Linked DNA regions of Homo sapiens: regions 2, 3 and 4 are each linked to region 1. The links are contacts of gene promoters, found by promoter capture Hi-C in blood cells and fetal thymus (Javierre and others, 2016). All regions are on one chromosome and are shown on one strand. The core of a region is centred on a gene start or on the middle of the fragment in contact, and the rest is flanking DNA. Distances in the headings are between cores, read along the strand shown. Region 1 holds the start of GRIK4 (glutamate ionotropic receptor kainate type subunit 4). Region 2 overlaps GRIK4 (glutamate ionotropic receptor kainate type subunit 4). Region 3 overlaps GRIK4 (glutamate ionotropic receptor kainate type subunit 4). Region 4 overlaps GRIK4 (glutamate ionotropic receptor kainate type subunit 4).

Region 1 (6,111 bases), core at 2,491-4,990:
TGTGAGCCACTGTGCCCGGCCAGAGATTTTTTAAAAAGCCTATAGTCTAATTATGAACTTGAGATGAACCTTCAAGGGACCTTTGGAAAAGAAATGGTAGGTAAATTTAAGATCAAATATCTGATTTGCGGATATACCTGAGGCAAATACAAAGAAGGGAGAAGCTAAAATATAAATCCAGGAGAACAAGCTCACAGTCTATTAGTGAGAGCAGACGTGAAACAAGTAAGTGACCATAAACTCTAACAAGCACAAGAGAGATCCCGAGAAGGGAGTAATTACTTCTGTTGGGAAGGGACTAGATAGCCAGGTATGATAAACTTCTAGTAGGAGAGGTTCCCAAACAGAATTCTGAGCGGTTAATAGGAACTTGTGTATCAGTGTGTATGTGGGAGGTAGGGTGGGGACTCTGGGCAGAATTCAGTGTGTTAAAGGCACAGAGGTATGAAATGGGATGAGCAGAGAACTCAGTGCTGCTTGGTACTGACTGAAGGTGAGATGGACAGAAATGGATGATGGGTGAGGTGGGGAAGTAAGCAGGGAACTTGTATGCTGTGCTAAGAAGTTTTGGACTCGAGGCTGGGTGCGGTGGTGCACGCCTGTAATCCCAGCACTTTGGGAGGCCGAGGCGGGCAGATCACGAGGTCAAGAGTTGGAGACCAGCCTGGCCAACATGGTGAAACCCCATCTCTACTAAAAATACAAAGGTTAGCCGGGCGTGGTGGCGGGTGCCTGTAGTCCCAGATACTCAGGAGGCTGAGGCAGGAGAATCGCTTGAACCCGGGAGGCAGAGGTTGCAGTGAGCCGAGATTCCGCCACTGTACTCCACTCCAGCCTGGTGACAGAGGAGTGACTCCGTCTTAAAAAAAAAAAAGTTTTGGACTCAATATGAGGTCATGAAGGGGTTTTCAGCAAGGGTGTAAAGTGGTGAAGCTTGTTTTAGAGACATCACTCTGGCAGCCATTTGTAGACATATTGGAGGGAGCCAATTTAAAGGCAGGGAGATGAGCTAGAGGGCCGCTGCAATAGTTTCTAAGACATGGTGACATGATATGATATGTGCCACTCAGCAAGGTGACAACAAGTCACCTGCTCACCGTGTGCCTCAGCTGGCCCCATTTATGCAGAGGGATCATTATGAATGTGTGATGAACCTTCAAAGGGACCTTCGGAAAAGACATGGCAGGTACATTTAAGATCAAATATTCTTCTTAGTGGATATACCAGAGGCAGATAGATGGAAGAAATTAAAGATAAATCCAAGAGAACAAACTCCTTCCTGTGCGCTCCGACCACCATGGCGCCCAAGCACAATGAATCCTATCCGTCCTGCACAGCATAGCAGCTGGCTGTGAGGGATGTTTCAGATGAGAGGTTCTAGAGGTGGGAGCCCCATTTCCCAACCCTTCTGTTTTTTCATTCAAGGCAGCAGCCTCAGAGTAGATCAGCGGGGCCAGCCTCGTGGCCCTCTGACATTCTCCCCCTGTGGCTTCCAAAAAAGATCTGGACTGACCTTCCCACCCCTGGAGCTGAGCTTGAGAAGTCAGCTTGCCTGGAATTGAATTTTTTCAGTAGTAAAAAAGGTGGAGAGCAAGTAGTAAGTATCCCAAAGAACTCAACATCTTGCAGCAAGGGGAGACAGGAGAGTGGGTGGGGGCAACCAGGCTGAGGCTAACAGCAGACTTCTGTACCGGCAGACTTCGCTGACATTGTTGTCCACCCTGTGACTGGTAGGGACTCCCTGCTTCTAGGGGCAGAGGCCTTAAGAAAGGAAAAGAAAGTCAGAACCATTCTTGCAAGAAGGGGAGAAACCAGGGCCCTCAGGAGGCCACAGCCAAGACTATCTCCAGAGCCATCAGCAATCTCTCTGACCTGCCAAAAGCTCCTCCCCGCTTCCCTGGTTAATAGGATGAGATCACCAGGCAAAAGAATATGATGAAGCATTTCACTTATATAGTATTTTTCTTTCCAAACACTTAATAAGCCTCTCTGGTCTCGCTGATCTTGCATTCTTCCCGTGAAAGGGGCCAGGGATCCATGCTTGGCATTTCAGAGTTTGCGCGGCTTGAGAGATCATCTAGTCTGCTTCCCTCACTTTTAGAGTTATGGGAACTGAAGTCCAGGGAAGTGAAATCGCTTGCTGGGATCACAGGGATGCCTCTCCCTCCTCCCAGCCCCGTACACTTTCTGCTAGGCTTATGCTGCTGTTCCGTCCATTTTGCACAAGAGAGGGGGTTCCAGAGTGGGGGAATAGAGTTGGAATTAGAAATTAGTTTTGTGTCACTGGCTTACAGGTGCTCTTAAACCTTAACAGGTTTAACATCCTCTGTAAAATGGGACTAGTGTCACCTCAACACCTACCTTGCAAAGTTGATTATTGGGAATCACACTTGTGTAAGCGGTATAGTCTTGGCAAACAGTAGGTGCTAAATAATGTCTGGCTGGAGGAATGGAGCCCTGTTCGCATATGGCATTCATCCAGCCAGTGTGTGGAGCTGGGGGAGGGATAGGCACGACTCCTGAAGCAGGAGGCCCAGTACGCGCCCAGGCTAGCCAGCCAGCCCTCCCCGGGGAATGCAACGTCCAGAACAGTCTATAGTCCCGATAGTATGCCTCATGCGTGAGACCTGACCAAGGACGTCTGTGAACAAACCCTTCACAGAGAGCTTAATGAGATTGTGGGAGTGCTGGTGGTTGGGTGTGGGGATACAGGCCATTGAAGGTGAGAGGGCCGGTGTGATCAGTTTGGTGGTCTGCCCAAGACAGAGACTCTGCGGGTTGGATAAGAGGGAGCTAATAGGTTTGAGGGGGTCACGTGTCCCTTGCCCTCCCTCCTATTCCCCCAGGACTCCCTCTTCACCCAGCCTCCTCCTAAGGGCAACTCTGTTGTATTAGGATGAACCACACGGTGTACTGAAATGAACCGCGCGTCAGAAAGCGGGGTTGCCTCCTGGGTCCTGCCACTTGCTCCCCGTGTGTTCTTGGCCTGGTCCCTTCACCTCTCCTAGCCTCAGGATCTTCATGCGTAACATGAGATCCTCCCAAGATGTTGGTATGTATACAACAGTGCTCTGGAATGACTCCATGCAAGCTGTTGCTCTTCAGTCTCCTGAACAAGGTGCTCTTGTCTCGTCCCATGAAACCTCCACCTCTCCATCTTCCGCACCACTGAGGCCGCAGTCTCTTCTAACGGGGCACGCTCGTCCCCCGCGCTGTTTCCCGAATGCCACCAGGGGGCGCCCCTTGCTCGCTGAAGCCGCCGGGCTAATAACTCCTCGGGGCCGGGGCGGGCTGCCCCTTTGCGCAGGGCGGTGGAGTGTGCGGGCTGCGCCGGGTTCCCCACCTGAGGTCCGTACCTCGCAGAGCCCGCTTGGCCGCGCGCCCCTAGCCTCTGCCGGGCGCCGCTCCCCAGCCGGGCGCCTCTCGCTCGGCCCCGGGCCCCCGGGCAGCCGCAAGTTTGCCCCCGGCCGCGCGGACCCGCGCCCGCCCTGCCCGCAGCAGCCCCCGCCGTTCCCGCCGCCCCCGCCGCCCCCGCGCCTGGGCTCCCGGGCGACGCTCCGAGGGGCGCTGGGGGGCGCGTGCAGCTGCCCGCGGGGCTCCGGCCCGGCCCCGAAGGGGCGCCCCCCCGGCCGGCCGTGCGCGGGGCCGCAGCAGTTCCCCAGCTGCCCGCCGGGCGGCGCCCCGCGCCTCGCTGCGCTCCTCCCGCGCTCCCCGCGCCGGGCTCGCTCGCAGCCGGACACAGACTGCCTTCAGCTGCGGGCGGATCGGGCTGGAGCCGCCACGGCTGCTGCGGAAGAGGAAAAACGGCCAACAGCAGCCCCGCGGCCGGCCCGGCAGCGCCCGGCCCCCGGCTCAGCCCCCGGAGTGCGGAGCCGACCAGGTAAGGGCAGCGGCCCCCCGCGGCGCCCCCGGCCCGCTCCCTGCGCTGCCCCCGCGCCCCCGAGTCCCCTCCGCGCTGGCCCTTCCCGCACCCCGACTTCTGACGTCTCCGCCGCTCCTGCCCTCGGGGGCCGCGGCCCCGCACCCCTGCCCCGGCCCCCGCCCCCGCGCCCTCCTCCCCGCTCCCGCCTCCCGCCAGCCCGGTCCCTGGCACTTCGGTCCCTGCGTCTCCAGATTCGCCGCCGAACCCCCCACCGCTCTGCTCCCGTAGTTCCTCCAGTCTTCACCCCGGTCCGTCTCCCTCCCTCCGCATCCCTTCCCCGGGCTCGCGGTCCTCCCGCTCTGGTCCTCCCCCTCCCCGTGCAACTCCCAGCCCTGCCTCTGTCCCCTGCAGGGATGACAGCCCCTTCCCAGCCTGGCGCGTCTCCCCTACACCTCGTCACCCTCCGCTTCTCCCAGCGCCTCTGTTCCCCGGCTGCAGCCCCCCATCCCGGCTCAGCCTGGCATCCCACCAAGCCCCCTCCCCCTTTCCTCACTGCCATCTGCCTCGACTGCCCCCTGCCCCTGCACTGGACTCGGGCCACCACCACACCCCCCCACCCTGCACACCGCCTTGCTTGGGGGAACCAGCGTCCTATCAGAAATGATCCTCTTTCCCGGGGAGAATGGGGCTCCCACCCATCCCACCCTAGTTCATCCGAGTGGGAAGTGAGGGAGAAACTCTAGAGACCTGCAATGGGCGCGTGATGGGGGAGGGGGCTGGGGCGGAGGGGGAGGGGAGCTGATTTAGATTCTCTTCAGTGAGGACTGGCAGAGCTGTGCGCTCCGACCTGGCTGGGGTGGAGGGCGTGCAGGCGACAGCTGGGACAGGGGGTTCAAGGCACTGAGAGCACCTGTGTCTCTTTCCCTGGCTCCCTTGAGCTGAGCAAAGTGAGGGGAGGAGTTGGAGCCTGGGGAGAGTTGGCTGAGGGCCTTGGGGTGGTGGAGGAGGCGGCCGAGGGGGCTGGGCCCCGGGCGCCTCTGGCCCGTCTGCCTGGCAGTGGTGGGGCAATGCGGGCCGAGCCACTCCCGGGCTGGACCTTGGGCTGCGTGGCTCTTGGCATCTGTACTTGATGCTGCCATCTTCCTCTTGGTGCTGTTGTCTGGTGATGCCACGCGGTGCCACCTCCCTGCCTCCCTCCAGTGGCTCTCCTGGGCATGTCTCCCAAGGGTCTGGGTTGTCTGGGAAGAGGAGGGGAGCTCTGAGCACAGCTGGGCCCTTTTGCCAGGCAGTGGGCAGCTGTCAAGACCAGGCCAAGAGGTCTGAGGGCTGGTCAGGAGGACTGAGCCCTGCCAGGAACAAAGAACTACCTTCACTTTCACTCCCTATGGGTCACCTGGTTGGTAGTGACACTTCTAGGAGCACCGGGAAACTGCGGGCGTGGTATCTCCGGGGAGAGAGGCCGCCTGGGTTGGTAGTGGGCATCTGAGAGACAAATCCGGTCCTGCCTGACTCCCTGACTGTCTGTGCTCGCGTGGTCAGGGGCGAGGGGCTTGTCGAGGTCCACTGTGTTCCGGTCCCACCAGGGATGGCAGCCCCTGGAATTCCACTGGGCGTCATCATGCTGGCTTTATTTGCTGAAGCTGCAGCTCAGGCTTCATCATTAATCAGGTTTATTATTTTTCTCACTGGCCAGATGTGTTCCTCAAGGTCACGACCCTTCGGAGAGTTAATCTAATATGCACACATTACAGTGTCTGGGTTTGTTTAATTTTCCATATTTTGTTCATTCCTTGTGGCCCGGGCTTGCCCACCAGCCTCCCGCCTGCCTCACCAGCTCCACCCCTCTGTCCTCCTCTGGACCTGCCACCTGAAACCCAGAGGCAGCACTGGTCCCTCCGGGTGGGGAAGAGGTGGATGCTCGGGAGGGGAGGTTGAGAGGGGATCTTGGTTTTCTGTGTTTTTCCCATCCCCCTACCTGGGCATCTTGATCGGTGGCTGCTGTCTTCCCCAGCAATGAAAATTCTTCCGAGAGCCTGGGTCGGCTTCGTGGTCTGATTTCCACTTTGGTTTTCCCTTAGGATGGAGAGGGAACTTTAGTACCGGGAGAGAGGCAGAGACTCTAGGAGAAAGTCCCAGCTGCAGGGAGTCAGGGCATCCAGGAGAGAGGAGCTCAGCTGCTTCTGAGGTGGTTCTCAGCCATCCAGAGATGGAAGGGAGGACAGGGGGACCGGCCCTGGGTTGGGGGAGAG
Region 2 (6,332 bases), core at 571-3,070, 200 kb after region 1:
GTTGCCCTAAGAGATGTACAACATGAATATTCATAGTTCTGTTCACTTAGGTGACTGCTTTGCTAGCTTTATCTCTTCACAGCAGCTTTGGAAGATAGGGAAAGGAAGGCTCAATTCTCCATTTTACAGAGGGGGAAATTGAGTCGAGAGTGGATTTGCTGCGGACTCAAAGTCCCATTGAGAGTCATGAATAGAATTGGGGCTGGAATCAGGTCTTGTGCTCTGCTCTTCCTACCATAGAGCACCTGCTTCTCCAGCATTATTCACAGGATTTCATCCTGGCTCATCACTCATTCCTCTTCCATCATTATTTAAGAGATAATGTCTATGACAGCACATTGTAAACTAAAGTCTAAAGGTGCTATCCATAGTTGCTGTTGTTATGACTGAGGACTTAGCTGTGTTGAGACACCATGTGGATGCAAAAGTGTATGCTATGCTCTCCCAGCCTTTCAATAGCGGTGACTTTAATAATGTCGGGAATTCACCCAGTCTGGAGGCTCATTGTGACTTACAATCCACAGCTCTGGGGTTTTGGAGAAAGGAAAGTGCTAGTGCGTGTGATTATTGCAAGCCAGAGTAAAGATGAGGGGCTTTCAGAAGGAAAGGACTAACCTTTTCCTTCCTGCCTTCCCTTTCTTAATCCACTCGCGCTATTTATTTTTTCTTTCAGCAGTTATTTATTGAACACCTACTGTGTGCCAGGCACTGAGCCATGTGCTATGAATCTAGTGGTACATGGGGAGAAGTGGTTTTTTGCTTCTTGGAACTTAAATCTCGTGGAGGTTAGGGAGAGGACACAGAAGATTAAGCACTTACTGAAAAGTATCAAATGTGTCCTAATAGAGGAAGTATGAAGTACTACAGCGTCCCATAGCAAGGCCCTGTGACCTGGTCTGGGAGTTAAGGATGGCTTCCTAGAGGAAATGACTCAAGCTGAGACTGGAGTTTAAATAAAAGGTAGATGTTACTCTAGATGAAGGGGACATGGAACAGTGCTTTTTCAGGGCCTGAGTCAAGAGAGAATATGATTCTTTTTGAAATGTAGGGAGAGGGGGAGGTGGGAACAGATGAGCCTGGAGAGGTAGGAAGCGGTCAGATCATAAAGGCTCTTAGGAGTCTTGTTAAGGAGGGTTCGGCTTTAGCCTAGTATAAGGGAAAGCTACTGGAGAGTTACAGGCAAGGAGGGACATGATCAGATTTCTATTTTGGAGAGACTCCTTTAGCTGCAGAGTGGCAAATGCATGGGAGGAAGCAGGTGTTTGGTGTGGGTCCTGCTGATTCTGAATTGCCTCTGGGCTTTGCACTGGAGGTGTCCACCCTGTAGGTAACTACCTTCATCCGTGGGACTGGAGCTCAAAAGACAGGTATAGGCTGGAAATAGGAATTCACTGTATCTCTGCTGGCACGGGGGCACTAATGCTTATCCTGGGCCAGGTGCTGGGATTCGGCTTATCTGTGGAGCAATAATTGAAGCCAAGGATATGTGTGATCAAGGGAGGGAGAAGGGGCCCTGGGGCACAGTCCCGAGGAGCCCCAACCTACGAGGGCAGGCAAGAAAGTCGACCCTGCAATTAATTCAGGAAAAGGAAGCCCTTTTGGAATCACAGACCTGTTTGAGCATCCGTTGTCGGAAAGCGGTGGGTCGTGTCTCATAAAAACAAAAAAACAAAGTAAAACGAAACAAAAGCAATTGGAAGCTCATGAACCCCCCTAGAGGTTGTTCTGTGAATGCAGATGAAGGACCCCTGGCCTAAAGTGTGTTCCACCCCTCCATGTTCCTTTCCTTTTCTTTCCTGTTTGTCTGATTCCAACGCTCCCTCTCTCTCCTCTTTCCCCTCCATGTTTCCTTTTCTAGACATTCGTTTTCCCCACCAACACCTTCCCAGTCAGGTATGGAGAACGACATTTGCAAAAGGCTTGGGGATTCTCAAATTCCTGTGGCCCCAAACCTCTGGGAAGAAAACGTCCCGTGTTTGCAGCTTCATTTCACACCAGGCCACGTGGGCGCCACACCCGCTCCCTTTTGTGGGGCTGCTGTACTGGCGGCAAATGTTCCCACTTTTGAGATAGAACTGGGGAGACTGAAGCAGAAAATAGGACGCAGCCTCCTCTGGGTTCCAGCCTTAATTTAATTTAAATGAATTAAACATATTCTTCCTGAGCCCCTTCTTGGTGGAAAGCACAGTGGATTCCAGGTGGGGGAAGTCACCCAAGCAAAGGCTCATCCTGAGCAGAGAGTGGGCTTCTGTGTAGTTCAGGAACTGGGCATGTGGGCAGTGGGGGAAGGCGGCTAACAGGCAGGCTGGAGCCTGATGTCAGCACTCCTAAATGCAGGGAGGGTACGGAGCCTCCACTGTTCTGTAGGCAATGGTGAGCTGGCTAAGGCTTCTGAACTGGGAGTGACTCTATCAGAGCTGAGAAGAAGGAACCAGAGCTTGATTTGCAGAAGTCCAGACCTGGATTTCTGTAGTTATAAAGCTCATTCACTACCTGACATGATTTTTTTGGGGGGTGGGTGGGCGGGATGGAGTCTCACTCTGTTGCCCAGGTTGAAGTGCAGTGGCCTGATCTCAGCTCCCTGCAACTTTCACCTCCTGGGTTCAAGCAATCCTCCCCCCTCAGCCTCCCAAGTAGCTGGGATTACAGGCGCCTGCCACTGTGCCCAGCTAATTTTTGTATTTTTAGTAGAGATGAGGTTTCACCATATTGGCCAGGCTGGTCTCAAACTCCTGACCTCAAGTGATCCACCCACCTTGGCCTCACAAAGTGCTGTGATTAGAGGTGTGAGCCACTACGTCTGGCTACGCTCTATGTGAATTGAGTGACTGCTATGTGCAGGCTCAGAGCTATGGTACAAAAGGTGCAAAGAGAACTAAGATGCAGTCTCTGCCTTCTAAGTGTTGGCAGCCTGGCTGGGGAAGCAGAAACTGAGTATAAATAGATGAGGAGGAATCCCAGGCCCCCAGCACCCCTGACCTGACATTCCCTCTGCACAGGAATCCTTCCAGCAGTGAGAGAAGAAGGAATTCTTCTCTCCCTGAAGTTTCCAGGAGAGACAGCCTTTTCCAGCTGCCACCGCTCTGCTCATCAGAGTGCTAAGGATGGATCCACAGGAGAGGGTGGTTCTGCAGCATGATTGTCCCTGAACTCCATTTATCAGCTCAGGGCCCTGGTAATAAAATCTATTTGCACAGCCATGGACTGAGAATTTAGCTCAGATGGTTAGAGAGGGCGTGCTTAGGGACTAGGATCCAAATCCTTTAAATATTTGCTGTGGGGATGTCTTCATACCCAAGAGGGGAAAGGATGCTGCGGCGGTGGCTCCTCGTCGCTCTGACAGGCAGTTTGGGGTCCAGCCAGGAGATTTTTCCTGCCGACGGAATGCCTGTAAATGGAGGCCAGGTGCCCTGTGCTCATCGCGGAACTGGTTGCCTTTGGTCACCTTAGTGTGAGCCTCAGGCTGGGGTCACAGCCATTGCAAGGTAGCTAATGGCTGGGACAGAGGAAGCAACTGCACACACCTGGGTGGTGGGCAACGCTGCAGGAACAGGCTTTCAGAAGGGCAGCTGCTGTGGGGCATCCTTTGGCAATGTTTACAGTATCACGAGGTGAGATGTTACTGCCCCCTGGGGCTTCTTCCCTACTTCTCCTGTCCCTTGAACCTGCTCACAGGCGGATGAGCATGCCCAGGATCTGGCAGTGCTTAGGGATTGGAGAAGGATGGGCCCACTATCTCCTTTGCCATCCTGCCAACACACATGTCCCAGCCTGCATAGAAAGACACCGCAGGGCCAGGAAATCTGAGTCCTAAAAGTTTAAAAAAAAAAAAGCGATGGGAGAACTTGATTTGTGATGTTGGCTGTATCAGTTGACCTCTTTGGTCCTCATTTCCTTACTTACAAGAGGGGAAATAAGAATCCTCCTGCTTCCTGCATCACCAAGGTGAGGAGAGGAGACTACATGGGATGAAGAAAGAGAGGGCTTGGGTGGGGAAAGCCTGCTGGGGGTGTGTGGGATTCTGATCAGGGAAGCCCAGCCGCCCAGCCTGGGGTGCCCTTCCAGCTCTGGGCTTTGTGGGCAGGAATGTGCTCTCCCTGGAGCTGAGGCTCCACGGGCTTAGGCCTCCTGGAGGCTGAGCAGCTGGGGGATGGGGAGACCTCCCAGCAAGGCTGGGGTAGGAAATGGCCAGCCTGTACCTCCCTGCCCGCGTCTGTAAGCTGAGGCGGCTGTCTGTGGCAAGAGGGCTTGAAAAGATTCCGAAAAGAATTAAGTCAGTGCCATGGTTTTCCCCTTAAGTGTCTGTCTAGACACAACACCTGATTCCAGGAAAGGATCATAAGTCCATTTGCTTGTTGCTTTGGGTGCTGAGAAGCCTGACTTCTCCCTCCTGCCATCTTCCCTCTCTTCCAGGGTGTTCCTCCCTCTCCTCACCAAGAGCAAAGACAGGACTCAGCCCTGGAGTTCCTAATATGTCCCCTCAAGTCTGTAAGTCCATCAGGGACCTCCCAGCCACTCCCTCCTCTCCCCGTCTTTACCCAGGCTTTCTGGAAACAGCAGAAAAAGCTCCAACTCCCGGTAGCCTGAGGAGTGATGTGACCAGCGTCTCTGAGTCATGGAGGCATCCATATTCAGGAGAGGATACTTGCCAGTTTCCATTTTCCCTGAGGACAGAGCAAGAAGAGATAGGCTTAGGCAGCCGCAAGTGGATTTAGGCTGGGTTAGACAAGAGATTGGTGTCGCTGGATAATAATGTGGTTCCCTGCCACTCTCCTCTCTAGCGTTCTAAGCCAGGGACACTTAACCTCCAGCCGCAAGTACAGCCTTGCCCCGGCATGGGACCAATCCTGTCCTTGAGATGGAAGGAAGGAGGGAGAATCCAACATGTATTGAGCATTGTCTGTACGCTGAAGCTGAGCAAGGCACTTTCATATCCAAGTCACCTTAGGTGGGCAGGTGGATGTCCAGGGCTGTGGGTCTGCCGCCTGGGAGGGCCAGCCTGGCCGCTGTTGCCTGTGCCCAGGACCTGCCAGTACCAACCTTGGTCCTGCCTTGACTTAGCCTGGGTTCATACCTCAGGGATGCTTGGACCTTTAACCCTTTCCCGTCGTACTTGCCCGTTCAGTCCCTTGCTGACTACAATCAGAATGGTTTCAGGACTGGCTAAGCCCTGTTTTTAAGAACAAGAGTTATTAACCATAGGAATGGTTTGCTAAGAAAGAAGGTGGCCCTCCCCTTTCTAGAATAAGGTATAGAATCAGGCTTAAAGAAGTAAAACAACAGGTTTTGCGGGTTTTTTTTAGATACACATTTACTCTTTATTTTGGTAAGTTGCATAATTGAGTTTTTTTTAAAGTGTATAATGAATATTTTGAATTTTAAATAAACAAGATTTTAAAGAAATCCAACAAATCAGAGATCTCACATTCTTCTGCAGAGACACCATCAATAATTTCATAGCATTTTATGCATGCTTGGGTGAGTCCTTCATTAAAAATAAGCTTTTAAAAATAATAGGCTGTAGCAACTTCTACAGCCACACATAAAGTGGTATTTCCTATAATCTGCTCTGGGTAGAGGCAGGGAACTGAAGGCAGTGTGTGTGAGGGGTTAACCAGGTGGCTTCCTTCCAGAGATAACCTGGTAGAATATGAAGGTTTTAGAGTGAGACGGATCTAGATTCAAATCGGCTCTGATACTCACTGCCTGTGTGACCTTGGGCCAGCTACCTTCCCTTGGATTCTGAGTGCTCCTCTTCTGGTAAAGTCAGACTGTTGATGATACCAGCTTCCCAGTTGTTTTGAAGATGATCTGAGATACAGCCTGTGAGTCAGTCTCCTAGAGGCCTAGTGAGCTGCTCCCACAGATCGTCACTCCCTTCCCCTGACCCTTCCCCCTTTCCTTCAGGTCTCAGGAGTCCAGAGTCATTCATACATACTCTTTCTCCCACTGTAAAGAGGTATTTAATCTGAAATGAAATAGTTACATAAGCTTCTCTCCTGCCCAATATTCAAAACCAGAATTTATAAAATAGAAAGCTAAGCAACAATGACTAGCCTTATTCCAGAAGGATCCTTCTTTTTATGTATAGGTATTTGCTAAGGCACTTCTACCGCAGAGCATTTTTCTCTCCACATTAGCTGCTGCTGTTATCCATTTGACAGAGAAGCCGAGAAAAGAGGCTGAGAGCTAACGGCTTAAATGTTAGGAACCTTTGTTCCCTAAAGATCAATTCAAGAAAGAGATAAGGTAGATTAAAAAAAAAAAAAAGATTTGGGGAAACATTTCATTTGTAAAAATTCAAGCTGTTTCAGGAAATAACTTTTACTTAA
Region 3 (6,478 bases), core at 288-2,787, 130 kb after region 1:
ACGGTGAGCAAGGGCCTGCCTTTTTCAGGGATTAGAACTATTTTTTCTGTGCCCTAATATCATTTCTATCCAAGGTGGCCCTTGACCTTACAAGAGCAGGGGTCAGGCCTGGAGCAATAATCCCACGCCTGATCATGCCTGTAATCCCAGCACTTTGGGAGGCCAAGGCGGGCTGATCACCTGAGGTCAGGAGTTCGAAACCAGCCTGTCCAGCATGGCGAAACCCCTTCTGTACTAAAAATACAAAAAATTAGCTGGACATGGTGGTGGGCGCCTGTAATCGCCCACTCAGGAGTGGAGGCAGGAGAATTGCCTGAACCATGAAGCGGAGGTTGCAGTGAGCTGAGATCACGCCATTGCACTCCAGCCTGGGCAACAAGAGTGAAACTCCATCTCAAAAAATAAAAAATAAAAAATAAAAATAAAAGCAGAGGTCAGTGTCTGGCCAGTGGTCAAAGCCTACAAAGCACAAGCTTGCCCTAAGATTCAGCTGCATCAGGGGCGCAATGGACAGAGGTGGAAAGGTGAACTTGGAGCTTATCCTGGAACCATCTGAGCTCTGGATGGGAGAATCCCCGGGGCCTGCTTTTGTGCTCTTCATCTCGCTACACACACAGCACAGGTGCTCTTGGCACCTTGGGCTCACTATCCCTTGCTCCCTGCCTTTTCCTTCCTCTAATCTCCTGGGGAAGTCATTCCCCTGTCTCGCAGTCTCTCCTCTTGGGGTCGGCCCCTGTCTCAGTAAGTGACTCCATCCTCTAGGCAGGTGCTTAGTCTGGAAGCCTGGAAGGCATCCTTGCTTTGCATTCCTCCACGACCCACATCTGATCCCCAGGTCCTGTCAATTCTACCTCCTAAAAAGCTCGCAAATGCAAACGTCTCTTCCTCTGCCACTTCTACCTTCCTCATGTCTATCTGTCTCCAGGACCTCTTCAGTGCCCACCCAATGGATGTCCCAGACTCCAGACCTAAACCCTCTAAAACTCTTTTCAAATTGCAGTCAGAGTGACCTTTCCATAAGAAATTCTGGTTATGTCATCCCTTTATGTAAAAATCTCAGTGGCTCTTTGGTACCCCTAGAATACAATCTAGACTTCCTAGCATGGCTGCTGTGGAGCCATCTTTGACCCGGATCCTATTCCCCCAGGGCAGCACCCCTCATTGCCTTTGGATCAGGAAAGATCCCTGTCTCCTGTCCCCTCCAGTTATGGGCTCATCCTCCTCCCATCCCTCTGCTTCCCATTTGTTGCCAGAAAGGGGTCTTGATCCGGACCCCAAGAGAGGGTTCTTGGACCTCATGCAAGAAAGAACTTGGGGCAAGTCCATAGAGTAGCGTGAAAGCAAGTTTATTAAGAAAGTAAAGGAACAACAGTTGTTGCCAGGAATTTGCTTTGTTTACTGTCAGTATATTAGTAATCCTAGATCTCAGAATCACAATAGTAGTAACAGGGGTCATTTTTTCCCAACTTACTCTATGTTCAGGTGTGGAATTTCTGTCTCCCAAGAGGAAATGTGACTTCACTTTGGTGTCAATGGACAGAAAATTCTACCTGTGCCACATAGAAGTTTGGAATGTACTTAATAGCTGGTTTTTATACCTTGATTTCAAGGTGGAAAGAAATTGATTATGAATCTCCAATAAATTTAAATCTCTTAAACCAGTAGGTGCTTAATATTTTTTAATTAATTAATGCCCATTTGAATTTCATGGGTTCTATTAATTTAAAAAAAAATAAGACCCCAATCCATCACCATCAAATTGCCCTTGGACTTTTTCAAGGTATAATATGGGGTTTTATGCAAAATTCCAAGCTGCCATGTAACTTTCTTTTAACCATAACAAGGAGGGAGAACTGTTTCCTGCCTTCTTTACATGTTGTGCATTGTTGTGGTCCAGAAATGATAAACCTTTTTTTTTTTTTCTTTTTGAGACACAGTCTCGCTCTGTCATTCAGGCTGGAGTGCTGTGGCGCGATCTCAGCTCACTGCAACCTCCATCTCCCTGGTTCCAGCAGTTCCCCTGCCTCAGCCTCCTGAGTAGCTGGGATTTCAGGCACATGCCACCATGCCCAGCTAAGTTTTTTTGTATTTTTAGTGGAGATAGGGTTTCACCATGTTTGCCAGACCGATCTTGAACTCCTGACCTCAGGCAATCTGCCCACCTTGGCCTCCCAAAGTGCTGGGATTACAGGCGTGAGCCACCGCGCCCGGCCCAGAAATGCTAAACCTTTTTAACGATGGTGCAACTTTGTCCTTGGCTTGACTCTACAGGCTTTGAACTTCGTGGCATAGCCACTTTGCCATATCTGCAGGAGAGCTGTTCTATGTGAAACATCTCAGAGTTGCAAATATCACATGTGAATGATATGGCTACTTTAAGAAGTGTCTGTATTGTATTTGAAGACTGTTTGCCATGAATCTGAAATTTGAATCTGTGTATTTCAATTTGGTATGCTAAAAAGTCCTGAATTAGTATAAAGATTTTTTTGTTATAATATTGTAATCTCAGTTCAAAAGTTAACTGAAAATGTAAAACCCAAGTGATTTCTATATAGTAAATTGAACTGTAAAAGTTAAAAAAAAAAAAACAACTAAAGGAATAAAGCTTGGCTACTCCATAGGCAATGCAGCCCACATGGCTGAGTATATTTATAGTTGTTTCTTGATTATATGCTAAGCAAGGGGTGGATTATTCATGAGTTTTCTGGGAAAGGGGTGGGCAATTCCCAGAACTGAGGGTTCCTCCCCTTTTTAGACCATATAGGGTAACTTCCTGATGTTGCCATGGCATTTGTAAACTGTCATGGCGCTGATGGGAGTGTCTTTTAACATGCTAATGCATTATAATAGGCATATAATGAGCAGTGAGGATGACCAGACTTCACTTTTGTTGCTGTCTTGGTTTTGGTGAGTTTTGGCCAGCTCGTTTACCACACACCCTGTTTTATCAGCAAGGTCTTTGTGATCTGTATCTTGTGTTGACCTCCTATCTCATTCTGTGACTTAGAATGCCTAACTTCCTGGGAATGCAGCCCAGTAGGTCTCAGCCTCATTTTACCCAGCTCCTATTCAAGATGCAGTTGCTCTGTTTCAAACACTTCTGACGCTTTGGCTGATTCCAACATTGTTTGGGTCTCAAATGTTCTTTCTTCTGAGGAGTCTTCTCTGACCACCCCCGCTTCCCAAGCCTGGTTTGGGTGCTCTGTTCCGGTGTTCCCATGGCAACCAGGAAACATCCTCTGTGATCACACTGTCCACTTTGTATTGGGATTTGATGGCTACCTGTGTGTTTTTCCCAACACACATTATCTGTCTTGCACACAGCTATGTCCCCAGTACGGAATACAGTGCTGAGTTATGGAAGACAGTTTTTAAAAAAGTTATTAGCCAGGTGTGGTGGTGTGTGTCTGTGGTCCTAGCTACTCAGGAGGCTGAGGTGGGAGGATGGCTTGAGCCCAGGAGGTCCAGGCTGCAGTGAGCCATGATCATGCCACTGCCCTCCACCCTGGGCAAGATGGAGTAAGACCTCCATCTGTAAGGGAAAAAACAAAACAAAACAGGTCACTGAGCCAGTACTATCACGAAAAGAACATTGACGGAGCAGCTGGGAGATGCGGGTATTAGAACCTGTTCTGGGACAAACTCTGGACCTTGGTTAAGTCATTTTCCCTCTCTGGGCATTTTTTTTTTTTTTTTGTATCTGTGAAGTAAGGAATCTATGCTAGGTGGTCCCCAAGCTCCCTTCCGGATGTGAGGTCCTGGGACCCATCTTCTGAACCAAGGCTTCACTCTTCTCATCTCTCTTGACTTTCCAGGCTGTGAGGCCCCATCTTCTCCCTCTCCTTGGCACTCCTGTCCCTTCAGGATGTGCTGGGAAGCAGAGCCTGGCATCCTGCCTTCAGCGGGGCTCAGCCACGGCCAGCAGCGGCCTTGGGTTCTCCTTGCGTCCAGGATGAGAACTCCTTGAAATTCTCTGCCGTCCTCCTCCTCACCTCATCTGTTTGCTGTCAGAACATTGCAAATAGGAAGCTTCTCATGCTGCCTCTGTCTCTGAATTATTATAACATTCAATAGGGAGGCATTAAATCTACGTGCTCCTGAGGCTGCACTTCCCCCAGTAGAAACAGGAGATGCCTGGCTGCCATGGCCCCCTCCCAGAATACACCCAGCCTCCACTTGCACTGGGAGTGTTTAATCTTAACACCGTGACTGCTCACATGTTTCCCATACTCATTCAACACATTTACTGAGCACCCACTATGTATGGCAGGCATTGTTCTAGGTGTTTAGGACCCATAAAGAACAAAGCAAACAAAATCCCTGCTCTCTAGGAGCTCGCTACTCTTTAGCAAGCGTATAGAGGGGAAACTCATATAAATAAGAAATATAATAAGTAAATTATATAACAAGCTACAAGGGGATAAGTGCTATGGAAAAAAGAAAAAAATAAAGCAGGGTAGCAAGGATGAAAGCCCCCTGAGAGTTAGAGATTTGAGTCAAGGCCTGGAAGAGGGTGAGGGAGTGTGTCAGCTATTTGGAGGAACGTGTTCTAGGTCCAGGGCCCAGCTCAAGCACAGGCCCCAAGGTGGGAATGTGCAGGGTGTGCCTGAGGCACCGTGGGACCCAGCGTTGCCTGTGGACTCTGCACATCAGGGTATCTGCCAGAGCACAATGCCTGGAGCATAGCAGGCCCACCGCTGATATTGGGGGTTGGTGTACAGCCTGCTGGACCTGCAGCTGAATGGCCTGTGACTTGTCTGAACAGTGGTACTTGTTAAATCTAGTCTGGTCCTGTGGGAGGAGCTGGCAACTAAGTCTGACAATACTGTTTGCAACTTGGCTCATCGCTCATTAGCTTTGTGATCCTTGGCAAATTACTTAACCGCTCTGAGTTTCCGGCTCTTCATCTTTGAAGGAGGGCTCTGACCCGTGCCTCTTAGGGTTGTTGTAGGATTTGACGAAGTGACCGTGTGGAAGCAGCTAACTCAATGCATGTTGCAGCCAGGGTGTCTAATAACGTTAGTTCTAGTGCATCCCTTACCCTGGTCTTTGGGCAAGGTATTTATTTTCTCTGACCCTCAGTTTCCTCTTTCAGAAAACAGAGTATAATAGTCCCTGAGCTGCCTACTGCTTAGGCTTTAGTAATTATCCAGTCTAACAATGCAGATAATAGTACTTTATATATAGATGACAAGTTTCCAGGGGAGAGGGTCTGTGTGTGTGTGTGTGTGTGTGTGTGTGTGTGTGAGAGAGAGAGAGAGGAGAGAGAGAGAGAGAGAGAGAAAGTGTGTGTATGTGTGATTCTGTGTATGTGTGTACAGTTCTGTGACACAGGGTTTTTTTTATTATTTAATAAATGTTTCAAGGACAAGGATACTGTATTTTTTACAAGATCTTATGCCTCGCACACATTAAGTGCTCAGTAAATCCTTGTTGAATGAATGAAAGAGCAGTGAGGAAAATGCTCTTTGCTAGATTAAATGTGTGGATCAGAAGCAGCAGAGCTGTTTGCTTCCAGGCAACGGGAATGTGGTACCGTTGTGAATTATATTTATTGATAACTTAACTATGTGCCAGCTACTGTGTGAAGTATTTGCATGCATTTCTCATTTGAAACTGCAAATAGCCCCGTGAGGTAGGTACTATTATTATTCCTGTTTTACAGACAAGGCAGCTGAGGCTCAGAGGTTAATGTCTTGGTCACAGTAAGTGAGGGAGCTGGGATTGGAACTCAGCCTTCCAGAAGGAATACCTATGCCAGTTGCTCCGGAGGCTGCCTGGAATATCGCTGCCTCTTTCCGTGGCCTGATGTCTCAGGAGGAGGAGGAAGGATGTTCTTGCAGCCAGGCCAGGAGGAAAGTCCAAGGCTGTGAAGTCACTGCTCAGGTCACCGGTGAACCTTCCAGTAGAAGGGGAGAAGGCGAAGGGGTTGCCCTTCCTTGCCTGCAATAGACAATGAGGACGATCAAAGACAAGGATTGTTCTCTGCCCTGTACTTGAATTTGTCCTTTTCCTTTCGGTCTTAGAGCATGTTAAGAACTTGGTGGAACAAACCTTCACGTTGTGCACATGTACCCTAGAACTTAAAGTATAATAATAATAAAAAAAGAGGACAAAAAAGAAAAAAAAGAACTTGGTGGAGATATGAGAGCTTTGGGCCTTACGCTTCCTTCTTAGGTGCCTAAAACCTGAGGATGCATGTATGTATGTGTCTACGTATATGTACATGTATCAATGATGTACATGTGTATGTACATATGTGTGTACGGTATGCCTTGTATATGTGTATGTCTGTGTGGATGTGTGATATGTATATGCATATATGGTGTGTAGTGTGTGTGTGTGTGTGTATGTGTATGTATGGTGGTTGTGTGTGTCTGTCCTTCAAGAGCAGCGTGAAGATCTGTTTCTCTGCAAAGCCTCCTCTGACCGTGCCTTGGCAGTGCTGAGAGGTCTCAGCCTGGGCCTCGTTCCTTGA
Region 4 (6,440 bases), core at 2,700-5,199, 150 kb after region 1:
ACCTTCAGCTAGTCATGTATCTTTTCTTGGGCACAGCTTCCTCATCTGTAATAGAGCTTGTTCTGCGGTTTAACTATGATAAAGACTGTGCAAAGATTTTTGCAAGCCACTGAGCCTTACAGACATGCAACATGGTGGCTCTTTTCATTCTTGTAAGATTTAAGAGGAAATTATTTCTCATCACTGTGTCTAGGGGGTCACAGAGCTGAGGCCCAAGAGCAGCCCAGGACCTGAGCCACTGTCATGCTTAAATGTAGTCTCGGCTGGGTGCAGTGGCTCACGCCTGTAATCCCAGCACTTTGGGAGGCCGAGGCGGGTGGATCACCTGAGGTCAGGAGTTCGAGACCAGCCTGGTCATCATGGTGAAGTCCCATCTCCACTAAAAAATTAGCCAGGCTTGGTGGTGGGCATCTGTAATCCCAGCTACCTGGGAGGCTGAGGCAGGAGAATTGTTTGAACCTGGGAGGTGGAGGTTGCAGTGAGCCAAGATCGCGCCACTGCACTCCAGCCTGAGCGACAGAGCAAGACTCTGTCTCAAAAATAAATGTAGTCTCCAGGATCCACCAGTCTTTGGGGCCATGAGCAGCTTCACTCAGTTCCTCAGGCCTGCACGAACTGCGTGTAGTTCTGTCATCAAATAAAATTTACACAGGGTAATCTGACACCTATTTAGCAGTCTGCTTAATAATTATGGTGCAGCATGCTGATCAGGCATAAATGGAAGGCATTTGAGGTAAGTGATTGTATTTAGTAGTACTTTTATATAGCCTAACTGGATTATTACAGTTTTTTTCTCCTTGTTCCACTCAACAAATATTTATCCACTCAACAAATATTTATTAAGGCCGTATAATATACCAGGCACTGTTCTAGGCCCTGGGGATATAGTCCAAACAAGATTCCTGTCCTTGCCCCACCTCTATTGAGCTTAAATTCTAGTAGGGAGACAGAAAATCACTGAATAATCAACTTTATCCATAATAAGTAAGAATGTCTAGCTTCTCCTAAGACTGTGTTTGCTTTAATCTATCCCTGCACCAACACCCATGAATTAAAGAACAAAGATTCTGGGCCTGATTTGCCAACAGCGGAGTTGCCTTCACCCCCATCCTTTACTCTTTATCTTCCTCTGTCTTCCTCTAGCAGGTGATTGCTTGAGGCCTTCCATTCATTGAACAAATATGTGCTGTGCACCTATTATGTATAAATAGACCCTGGGGATGCAACAGGAACCTGGACACAGTCCTTGCCCTTAAGGAGCACATACTGATCCCAGGCCTAGACGCATAAAGGCAACAGCAGAGGCAGGAAAAGTGCTGCTCTCAGAGCCATGCCTGGGTGCTGATGGCTCACAGAGAGAGGCCCCATTCTGGCCATGGCAGGGGTGAGCAGAGGGGTGTTCTTTGGGCAGAAGGGATGCCCTGTGCACAGGAAGTGACAAGGCTCTGCGTGTGGATGAAATGTTGAGTGTGTTGGGGGAGGCGGAGTGTCCCTGAACAAGATTTTTTTCTGAGGCATAACACACATAAGGAAAAGTGCACACCCCATAAGTTTACAGCTCAGTGATCTTTCACAAAGTGAACACACCTCTGCAAGCAACACTCAGCGTGAAAACCAGAGAACATCACCAGCACTGGGGAGTCCCCTCGTGTCCCCTGCCATTCTCTACCCTAACCATGAAACTGGACTTCCAACAGCACAGAGTGGTTTGGTCTATTTTTACACTTTATATAGACAGAATTATTCTGTCTCTAGAATGTGTAATCTTTTGTAATCTTTTTACACTTTATATAGACAGAATTATTCTGTCTCTAGAATGTGTAATCTTTTGTACCAGTCTTTTTTTTTGCTAAATCTTATATTTATGAGATTCATCCTTGCTGTTGCATGTGGTTGTCGATTATTCATTTTCATTTCTGTATAACATTCCACTGTGTGCATATATAATGTATTTCTCCATCGTGCTGCTGGACATTTGGGTGGTTTCCAGTTTGGGGAAACGAAACCACCAGAGTGCTGCTATAGACATTCTAGTGCATGTCTTTGCTAATCATATACATGCATTTCTGCTTGATAAATACCTAGGAATAGAGTTAGTGGGTCATTAGGCTAGATGTAAAGCTCTAGTATACCAGTTTTCCAAAGTACTTATTTCAGTTTACACACCTACTACCACTGCATAAGAGTTCCAATTTGTCCACATCCTTGCTAACACTTAATGTTGTCTTTTTTTAAAATCATTATAGTGAGTGTACAGTAGTTTAAAATTTCATTTTCCTGATGCTTAATGAGGCTGAACACCTTTTCAGATGTTTGTAAGCCATTTGGATATCTTCTTTAGTAAAGTGTCTGTTCAAGCCTTTGCCCATTTTCCTATTGGATTGTCTGTCTAGGGGTTGGAGGACGAAACTTTTTTTTTTTTTTTTTTTTTTTTTTTTTTTTTTTTTTTGAGACGGAGTCTCGCTCTGTCCCCCAGGCTGCAGTGCAGTGGCACGATCTCGGCTCACTGCAAGCTCCACCTCCCCGGTTCACGCCATTCTCCTGCCTCAGCCTCCCGAGCAGCTGGGACTATAGGCGCCTGCCACCACACCTGGCTAATTTTTTGTATTTTTAGTAGAGATGGGGTTTCACCCTGTTAGCCAGGATGGTCTTGATCTTCTGACTTCGTGATCCACCTGCCTTGGCCTCCCAAAGTGCTGGGATTACAGGCGTGAGTCTGTATTAAAATTAAACATTTTAATACTACTCTCCCAATCCAGGCACCTGGGATTAGCATATCCAGGTGCTCATCAGCCGCACCCTCACCCCAGTGAAGCCAGCAGAGCTGGCTGTCGGCAGAATCTGGGTCTCAGTGGGGGCCAAGGCACGTGCTGCCTTGGGGAGAGGCAGCTCCCTGCAAGGTTCTGGATTTGACATCAGAGGCCCACCCACCTCAGGAAGGAGGAGAGGGATTGGTAGAGGTTGGGGGTGGGGCTGGTTTTCAGCGGTAGTAGAGCAGATGTGGAAAGCAGCTGATAACCTGGGAGGTGTGTGTCTGCTCTCCATATTTGCTAGGAATGGACCGCTCCCATCTGGGCCAGGGAGGACCTGACATTTATGTAGCACCTCATTTAGGCCAGACCCTGAGCATGGTGGCTTCTCCGATGTTACCTTGATTCTTCTTTAGTTCAACTCCACCAGGAGGGGTTGTTATAGTACTTTTACATGTGAGGACACTGAGCCGAGACACAGAGGGGACCTTGTGAAGGCCACACAACTGGCAAGTGGAAGAGCTGGCCTGAACCCAGTTTCCTCTCACACCTCTCCTCAGTGTGCAGTGCCTGTGCTGCGTTTGGGGAAATGGAGTAACCCTCCCAACTCTCCCATCCCTTCCTCTTCTGCTCACCCATGGCTCCAATTCCTTAAGGGCAGATGAGGGTTTTGTTTGTTTGAGACAAAGGCTCGCTCTGTCGTCCAGGCTGGAGTGCAATGGCGAATAGCGCAACCTCGGCTCACTGCAACCTCTGCCTCCTGTGTTCAAGTCTGTGACACAGGGTCCCGAGTAGCTGGAATTACAGGCATGCGCCACCATGCCCACCTAATTTTTGTATTTTTAGTAGAGACGGGGTTTTGCCATGTTGGCCAGGCTGGTCTCAAACTCCTGGCCTCAAGTGATCCACCCACTTTGGCTTCCCAAAGTGCTGGGATTACAGGCGTGAGCCACTGTGCCTGGCTGCGAGCAGATGAGGTTCTTCATTTCTAATGACACGCCATGAATCATCCAACCACAGTTACAGCAACCTGCCCCATGTCGGTCACAGAGCTGAAGTTAGAACCTGAGCCTTCTTTGAGCCCGGCATGTAAGGAGGAAAGACAAAGGGGCCTCTCCGGCTCCTGGGTGTCACTGGGATGGTGGGGCAGCTGCCTAGCTGGAGCCTGGGACTCACGTGCCCCCAACCCCCTCTCTCGCAGAGTTATGTCATGCCCAGGCCAGCAGGGGGCTCCATGAGGATTCATAGAAGATGCCCCGCGTCTCGGCGCCTTTGGTGCTGCTTCCTGCGTGGCTCGTGATGGTCGCCTGCAGCCCGCACTCCTTGAGGATCGGTAAGTGTGGCCCAGCTTGGGGCAGTGCCCCCACCCACTATCCCAGGTGTCCACAAGGGACATGAGAGTGCTGCACAGGACTTGGGGAAGCTGCCCAGCCCGTGCACTGTGCCCTCCCTGAGTGTGGCTGGGGTGAACATGCAGGTGGTGGTGGTGGAGGCAGCTGACAGGTGACCACTCCGATCTGGTCAACCTGCTGAGCTCCCCGGCCACTAGAATAAAGATGCTGATAACTCCCTAGTGCAGTCAATGTAGGTTCAGCCTAGCAGGTTAAGAGGCAGCTGTCGGGGAAAAAGGAGGGTGAGGATGGCCATGGGGACTCCAAATCTAGGGCTGGAGATGGGAGAAGAGGTCCCTTCTTTCCTGTGATCAGTCCAAGAAGGCTTCCTGGAGAGAGTGCTATGTCCACAACTTGGAAGAAGCCAGGAGTCTGCTGGCGTGGCCTGGCTGCTTGGAAGGGCCCTTGACATTGGGTCTGCTTGCTGTGGCCTGGCTCTGAGAGGGAGGGCAGGGTCATGTGAGTCTCTCCCTTGCCTTGTTGCTGTGGGACGCCCACTTTAGGTGTGGGCAGGCGGGCTTCCACCTGAGCCCTCAGCATCCCATCCCTGGAGGGGCGGGTCTGGGAAGTCAGGTGCCTCCTCCCTGCTGGGACTGAACAAGACTTGTCAACTGCAGGTTGAGGCTCTCTAGATCCTGGTTCCTGGGGACACAGCCAGCCACAGGGACAAGGACACAGTTCAGTCCGGCAGGCGCAGTGTGGTCATCTGATGGCCCAGCAACAGAGAACCCATGGAATTAGGACAGATGTGGGGTGTCGGGGATCAGGGGTGTCTATGTGTACATCGGGGGATGGGGATTAGTGTGGACAGGTGGGTGGGGCACAGCAGTGACAAACCCAGAAAGGTAGGTTGATGGCCACAAGACGACCCATCCAACAGCAGGGCCCCAAGGGTAGAGTTAAGTGACAGCCCTAGAGGAACTCAAATACCAGGCAGGTTACCCCAACGGATAACCACATGAGGCCCCTCTTCCCACACTGGGGGTGGGGTTGGGGGTGGGAGCAAAGGCAGGAATCTAGATCTTAAACCTGAGCCTGAAAGGGTTAGAGGCTGACTTAGAGCAAAGATGGCACGATGCTGAATCTCAGGGAGCTGACTTAAAGCTCCCAAATTCCTCCAATTGCATTCAGGTCGGTGTGCTGGTGATGGTCAGGAGGCCATGGTGTGGGCAGAGGTGGGCGAGCAGCCAAAACCTGGCTAGGCCAGGGGTCACAGGCCGGAAGCCCAGCCTGCAGGTCTGTGAGCTGCTTCGTTTTACCTTGTGGGCACAGTTTTTCATGCAAATGCAGAGGAGCTGATTGGAATCAGAAATGTGGACAGGTGACCCAGTTCTCCCCCTCACCCTGCCCTCGACACACTGCTCTGCATGCTTAAAAAAAAAGAAATTAAAAAACAAAATTTTCCCTCCCTCTTCTCCGTTCATTTTTACAGAAACTTCAAAACCTAATTTAATTCTGCTTAGCAGCAATGCAAAACGGTTCATATCCTTAAGATGTTTAATTTATAAGATGCCTATAGTTTTTCAGCGTTTGCTGCAAGGTCTTCTCCCTCTCTAAATGAGTGAATAAAGTGGCAACCCATCAATTTCCATTTGTCGCTAATGGGAAGCGGAAAGGGATTGAGCCAGAATCAGTAGCACCTCATGGCCTCGCCTCTCCCGACACTTGTGCTCTGGGAGGGAAGCAGAAAGCGGAGCTGACAGGTCCCTCTTTTGGCTGCCACAACAGAGGGCTTCAAAGGCACCCCTCGTGCTCCCAAACCCATACTCTGAACAATGCTTGTTCAGCTCTGTCAAGACTGCTGGCCCTCAGTTTTGGTTCATGCTAGGCCACTTCCAGCCGCTTTCCAGCCAGGGGCCCTGCTGGCTGGCAAGGTCAAACCGGGCCTAATCTCCTGCAGAGGCCAGGAAGCAGAGTTAAGCCAACAGAAAGGGAAGAAAAGAAAAACCCAAACAGCAGTGCCAGGACCCGTTCTTCCTGTCTCCTTGGTTAGCCTGAGTGCCAGGAGCTTTTTAAAATCTCCCAATCCTTATGGATGGAAAGTTGCTAATTACATGGACTCCAGAGGGGATGTGGAGTAGCGCAGGGATGGGAAGAGAAGTGGGTCAAGAAAACACAAGTAGCTGTGCTGAGCAGCAGGCAGCCTTGCATGCAGATGGGCTGGGCTGGCGTTAACTGTGCTGGGGTCTCTGGGGTCCTTGAGAGGCTTATGGGAAGGGAAGGGGCTGCTGCTCCTCTCGCCTTCCCAGGGGTCACTTTTCCTTGCATTTGAGTTTTTCTGGGGTTTTCCCCAACCCCA

The links. Contacts are between HindIII fragments. The CHiCAGO score rates a contact against its expected background, and 5 or more counts as called.
Region 2: a contact is called between a fragment that was not itself captured here and the fragment with the promoter of GRIK4 in region 1, in 1 of 17 cell types (megakaryocytes). The highest score is 6.7, in megakaryocytes.
Region 3: a contact is called between a fragment that was not itself captured here and the fragment with the promoter of GRIK4 in region 1, in 1 of 17 cell types (megakaryocytes). The highest score is 6.2, in megakaryocytes.
Region 4: a contact is called between a fragment that was not itself captured here and the fragment with the promoter of GRIK4 in region 1, in 2 of 17 cell types (megakaryocytes and M2 macrophages). The highest score is 7.5, in megakaryocytes.

The regions. Positions count from the first base shown.
Region 1 is chr11:120,508,008-120,514,118 of GRCh38, forward strand. GRIK4 (glutamate ionotropic receptor kainate type subunit 4) reads left to right here and starts at 3,741. Exons shown (of 21, transcript NM_014619.5): 1 at 3,741-3,880. RefSeq lists silencers at 3,352-3,431, 3,612-3,811. The HindIII fragment of the contact is 5,980 bases long and covers 932-6,111 here.
Region 2 is chr11:120,713,738-120,720,069 of GRCh38, forward strand. The region is part of intron 3 of GRIK4 (glutamate ionotropic receptor kainate type subunit 4); the gene reads left to right. Among named protein-coding and RNA genes, the nearest start is that of GRIK4, 210 kb to the left of the region's middle. The HindIII fragment of the contact is 7,357 bases long and covers 1-5,499 here.
Region 3 is chr11:120,638,799-120,645,276 of GRCh38, forward strand. The region is part of intron 1 of GRIK4 (glutamate ionotropic receptor kainate type subunit 4); the gene reads left to right. Among named protein-coding and RNA genes, the nearest start is that of GRIK4, 130 kb to the left of the region's middle. RefSeq lists an enhancer at 6,241-6,478. The HindIII fragment of the contact is 2,132 bases long and covers 472-2,603 here.
Region 4 is chr11:120,656,318-120,662,757 of GRCh38, forward strand. GRIK4 (glutamate ionotropic receptor kainate type subunit 4) reads left to right here. Exons shown (of 21, transcript NM_014619.5): 3 at 3,952-4,083. The coding sequence starts at 4,002. Among named protein-coding and RNA genes, the nearest start is that of GRIK4, 150 kb to the left of the region's middle. RefSeq lists an enhancer at 3,940-4,440. The HindIII fragment of the contact is 8,087 bases long and covers 1-6,440 here.